2 separate regions of the Homo sapiens genome follow, and region 1 is linked to region 2. Evidence: promoter capture Hi-C in 16 types of primary human blood cells and fetal thymus (Javierre and others, 2016). All regions are on one chromosome and are shown on one strand. Each heading gives the region's core, a stretch centred on a gene start or on the middle of the fragment in contact. The rest is flanking DNA. Distances are from core to core; before and after follow the strand shown. Region 1 overlaps ROCK2 (Rho associated coiled-coil containing protein kinase 2). Region 2 holds the start of ROCK2 (Rho associated coiled-coil containing protein kinase 2).

The links. The method cuts DNA at HindIII sites, captures the fragments that hold promoters and counts their contacts. A CHiCAGO score of 5 or more calls a contact.
Region 1: a contact is called between a fragment that was not itself captured here and the fragment with the promoter of ROCK2 in region 2, in 1 of 17 cell types (megakaryocytes). The highest score is 6.3, in megakaryocytes.

The regions. Positions count from the first base shown.
Region 1 is chr2:11,204,944-11,207,643 of GRCh38, forward strand. The region is part of intron 20 of ROCK2 (Rho associated coiled-coil containing protein kinase 2); the gene reads right to left. Among named protein-coding and RNA genes, the nearest start is that of SLC66A3, 51 kb to the left of the region's middle. The HindIII fragment of the contact is 2,388 bases long and covers 88-2,475 here.
Region 2 is chr2:11,343,261-11,345,960 of GRCh38, forward strand. ROCK2 (Rho associated coiled-coil containing protein kinase 2) reads right to left here and starts at 1,376. Exons shown (of 33, transcript NM_004850.5): 1 at 736-1,376. The coding sequence starts at 876. LOC124907733 (a long non-coding RNA gene) reads left to right here and starts at 2,252. Exons shown (of 2, transcript XR_007086216.1): 1 at 2,252-2,429. RefSeq lists silencers at 691-1,420, 1,561-1,630, 1,701-1,860. The HindIII fragment of the contact is 12,622 bases long and covers 1-2,700 here.

The DNA of each region.
Region 1 (2,700 bases), core at 32-2,531, 140 kb before region 2:
AAATGTTTAGTGATACTTGGTTATTTACTTGCAAAGGGGGTGGGAAAAACTTTAATCTCTATGTATGTAGGAGTTTTCTCACTGGCAAGCTTCAGTTTAAGATGAGAGGCTTTAAAAGCCAGCATTAAGCAAAGGGACCCCTAAATGCCAGAGTGAGAAAGGCTTTTCACCCCATATTAGCTGTTCTAATTACCCCAGAGGTTGTACCCAATTACTCTGTAGAGGAGAATGCTCTGATAAAAACCTTAGTGGTGGGAGGTGCCTGGCTGCAGACATATCTGCAAGGTTAATGGTAGAGTATGATCAGCAGATTAGTTCATTTAGTGTCACAACTTACTCCAGGCCTTATTTGCTCTGAATACTTCTTTTCCATCTATATCCCACTTCATGTATACCCCTGGCCTTATATATACTCCTTTCTTCTTTTGTTCTACTTCATCAGTCACAAGGCTTCCATCTAACTGCCATCTCATTCACTAGAGAACCTTCTTGCCCTCCAACCCATTCTCATTCTTATTTATTGTGGGTTTATATATTTTTTAATTCCTTTACTAGAGTTTTTCTGGAATCTTACAAGAAAGAAGAGATATACATGTTGGCCATTTTAAAAAGAAGCCAACATAGCACTTCATATGTAAATTCCCATTGCATGTATTTTTTTTTTTTTTTTACCTTCTATTCACTTATGTACCTGCCTTATCTTCCCCACTGAATAACTAATGATAAAATGCTAGTAAACTTCTCATGGGTAGGAAATGTATTTGGTTAATCTTTCTATCTTTCATAGTAACTACTACAATGCCTTACACCTAAGAGGGATGTAATCATTCATACAACATTTATTGAGGATGTAGTATATGTAAAACCTTAATCAAGGATTGGGGGCCGGGCACAGTGGCTCACACCTGTAATTCCAGTACTTTGGGAGGCAAAGCCAGGCAGATCACCTGAGGTCAGCAGTTCAAGACCACCCTGGCCAACATGGTGAAACCCTATCTCTACTAAAAATACAAAAATAAGCCGGGCATAGTGGTGGGCACCTGTATTCCCAGCTACTTGGGAGGCTGAGGCAGGAGAATTTCTTGAACCCAGGAAGGGAAGGTTGCAGTGAGCTGAGACCACACTATTGCACTCCAACTTGTGCAACAAGAGTGAAACTCCATCTCCAAAAAAAAAAAGGACTGGGGAGAACAAAATATAAATAAATGATTTTTGCCCTTCAATTTTAACCCTACAATGAACACTTCCTCTATAACCCTATTAGGTGGCTAAGATAGAAAACATGGGTGTCTTTGGTGGGGAGAGGTAAGGAAAAGAGGGACTAAGAAATAACAGAACGCCATTCACTTACAAAGAAAATAAGAGGCATATACACTAGGTATAAACAAAGCATTATTAGAAGTGGGAAGGAAACACAACCTAGATGATTAACTAGCTCTTACATCTGCATAAACACTATCGTTAGAATAAAAAGCTGGCCTGAAATAAGAGAGAAAAATAAAGCTAATATACAGAAAAAAAACCCACAAAAAACACAAAGACAAAGATGTCTGATTACTGTTCCAATTTCTAGTTCCAATTTTAAAAGTTTAAATCTCATGAAGTTGAAGGTCTAGGCTTACCCTGGCAATAAATAGATCAGCTCAGCAAAAAGAACAAAGTCTACTTGAATATTTTAAGCATCTTTTCTTAGATAGCATCAGTCTTACTGACCTGTCACAGGTATGCATAAAGCAGACAATTATAATGAGGATACATTAGTAGTAGCTGTAGTAGTTGTAACAGTAACAGATCTAGCAGTAATAGTCCCTAACACTTATCATATGATGGATGCTTTAAATAAACCATTGCTATCCTTTACAAGATCCCTAACAAGGAAGCTATTACTGCTCCCTTTCACAAGTGTGATAAAAGGCTTAGAGAAATTAAATCATTTGCCCGATGTTGGTTAGTTGGTAAGTAACAGAACCAATATTCACAACTCAGTCTGTCTGGATCCAAAGACTTTTTTCTTTCCACTCTATCACACTGTCTTTCATCAAACAACCGGGATCCAATATGACCTTTGGTCATGATTAGGAAGAAGTAATTCTCCTACTAATAGAATAAATGGGACAAATTTTAATAGTATATTTACTATATATTTTATCTTTTTTAGAGTTGAGTTCTTGTTATGCTGTCCAGGATGGCATGTAGTGGCTATTCGCAGGCATGATCACAGTGCAAAGCAATCTCACTTCACCTCAAGTGATTCTCCTGCCTCAGCTCCCCAAGTAGCTGGAACTACAGACGTGCACAATCGTGCCTATAATATTTTTAAAGTATTTTAACAATATGTTCTCCATTTTATAAGTAAATCAAGTAGACACTAGAGTACATCCTATGACATGATTAAAAATTTACATGCTGTTTATTTAACAGTCAAACATTTCCAAGTCTAAGAAACTAAGGAAACAAACAGGCACACGGACAATAAGCTTGAGAAAGAGCCCTGAGGAGGAATCTAAAAGCATGGTATGAAAATCCCAGATATTTTCTTCTGCCTCATCACCAACACTTCCTCTATCATCACATTGTAATTAGGTAGCAGCAGTAAAAACTGTTGGGGAAACGAATATAATCTCGAAGGACAACAGTGACACTCAACACATTACCTGTACAGAAATAAATAGAAAACATGGTCTAGAAAGTAAAATGCTC
Region 2 (2,700 bases), core at 126-2,625:
TTGTAAAACATGCTCCTTTCTTAACCAAGAGCCAATTAGCAGCCTTTACGGTGCTATTAATCTGGATTTCAAAGGTCGTTATAGGAAAGAGACGCAATGAAGAGGACAGATTTATTCCACTCCACAATTCAGACTGATTTTTTGGCTCTGGCGCAATAATCTCAGGGAATTAAATTTACAGCAATTAAAATGCACTAAATAGCAAGTATGGAATGCTCAAACGCAAGTGAAAACAGCAAAACTTTAGCTGTGTGTTCCAAGATTTCAGACTAAAAGGAGAGAGTGAGGGCGGCTCTTTGTCATGTACCCCAGTGAGTACTCGCAACAGGGACAGCATCAGGTTTCTTTCTCCCTCGCTCGCACCAAGTCCCCACGTAGCATGACACTTTCAAATCAGCTAACCTGGTGTATGAAGCATGGCCAGTCCTCCACCCACCTCCCCAGAGTGGGCAGGCGGAAGGAGAAGAGGGGTGTTTTCCTCCCAGTGCTGCAAGAAAGGAGCAGCCGGGGATGACACTGGCTCCAGCAGGAGGTAGAGGGAGGAATCAAAGGCGGGTCACTACTCTTGGAACTCGGTGACAGAATCGTTTGGTCTCCGGCCCCGGCTGCCGGAAGCAGGGCGGGGTGGGGCAAGACCTCCCCCTCCCCACGGGCGGACGGGCACGGAGGGCTGGGCGGAGAGGGGATCTGAGGTGTGAGCTGCAACGAGCAAGCTCCCAGGCCCCGGCCACCTACCAGCAAGCTCTCCACGTTGATGGGGGAGCGAGGGTCTCGGATCAGCGCCTCCAGCTTCCTCTGGCGGCTCGCGCCTGCCCCGTCCCCCGGCGCGGTCTCGGGGGCGCCGGGCATTTTCCCCGTCGGCGGGGGCCGGCTCATGCCGCCACCGCTGGACCCGCACTCAGGCTCCTCGCGCTCAGGTCCCGCAGCCTCGGGGCCTAGCACCGCCCCCGAACCACCAGCTCCGGCCGGGACTCCACCCGGGCCCACCGCCTGCCTCTAGCTCCGGCTTCGGGTCTCCAAGGCGGTCCCCCGCCTGGGGGCTGCTCCCAGGGGCCCGCCCGGCCCAGCCCGGCCCAGCCCGGCCCGGCCCTGCCGGGAGCGGCGGGGAACAGACGGCGTCCCCGCCCCTCAGTCAGATTCGCGCCGCCGGTCCGCTGGTCCTCAGCGAGTGCCCGCAGGAGTCCTCGGGCGGGAGCAGGGAAGTGGCGCCGCCACCGCCGCGGCCCGGACCGCCCCGCCCTCTGGGGCCCCGGGAGGCTGAAGCCCAGGCCTGGGCCACTACGGCCGCCGCCGGCCCGCTGCCATGGTCGCCGCCGGCCGCCTTGCAGTCCCTCAGCCAGCTCCCGGCGCACACACTCCCGCGCGGCCGCCCGTCTCCGGCCGCGCGCCGCCGCTACCCACAAGCCCCTCCGCCCGCAGCCGCCGGCGCGCGTCCCCGCCGGCCCTGCGCGCGCTCCGCCCCGCCCCGCCCCGCGCACCGCGCTTCCTCCCTTTCTTTCCCTTCCTGCGTCTGTCCCGCTCCGCTTTCTCCTCTGCGCCCCTTCCTCGCCCGCCCTCGCCTCCTCCCCCTGGCGAGGTTCTCTGAGGCGAATAGCCGGGCGCGCGGTCACGGCCGAGCTCCTGCTGGGGGAGGGGAGACGCACCCAGGCCGGGTCCTTCCGCGCGCCCCCTGCCCCTCCCGCCGGACCCCGCGGACTACCCCGCGGCCCCGAGGCGGAACCCCAGACGCCGGGCCCAGCGCACCGTGCGCTGGGGGGGAGCCCGGCCGCGCCCCCCGCCGCGGCCCCCGCTGACTCAGCGCGCAGCTATGCGGGCCTCGCCTCACCCGCGCCCAAATAATAGCGACCGAGCTCGGCGCCCGCGAGGGGCCGCAGGGCCGGGGGTTTCGAGGCGAGCCTGAGAGGGGGCCCTGGGTGTCTGGGATTCCGAATTAGCGGAGGCGGGTGGAATCCTAGTCCTGGGGCAGGAGGGCCTGGGATCCTGAAAGCGTTTCTGCCCGGCTTAGACACTAACCACTTCAAGAGAACGGGAGAGCACCGGAAAAAGGCTTTCCAGCCGCAGGCCTTCGCGGGGTCTTCTCCTTTTGGGGGGCGGAAGAGGGGTGGTTATCGGGACCGTTCCGCCGCATTCCTGCCCTCTCGGCGGCCGGTGCCATCGCTTAGATCCGCCCAGGGCGCAATCCGAAAATTATGTGCCAAGAGCTATAAAACCGTTCATAGAGCCCCTTTGACCCAGTAAACCCATTTAAGGAAGTACATTTCCAAGGAAATGATCCAAAGGGCGAAGAAGGGGGAGAACTTGCAGAAAGATGTTAACAGCAGGGCTATTCACAATGTTCGTGATGACCAAAACCTGGGAATGGGCCCAGTTGTCCAACAATTGAGTAACCCAAACAGGCGCCTTCACATTAACAGCAAGAATCCTGGCAGGTATGCAGACTGTGTCAAACATGAAATTTTGGCAAGTACATGAGAAGGTATATTAGAAATAAATGAAACAAAAAAAATCGTTTGTACACACTAAAACTATGTAAAATGAGCAGCTATAAGAACCAGAGAATACAGTACTTCTTAAATAAATGGGATTTTTTTCTGTAAAGATACTTAAGAACAAATTAAATTTCAAAAAATGGAAAAACCACTCCGAAAAGCAACAATCTGATATCCATTAAGTAATAAGAATGTTAAGAACTGTCTCCCT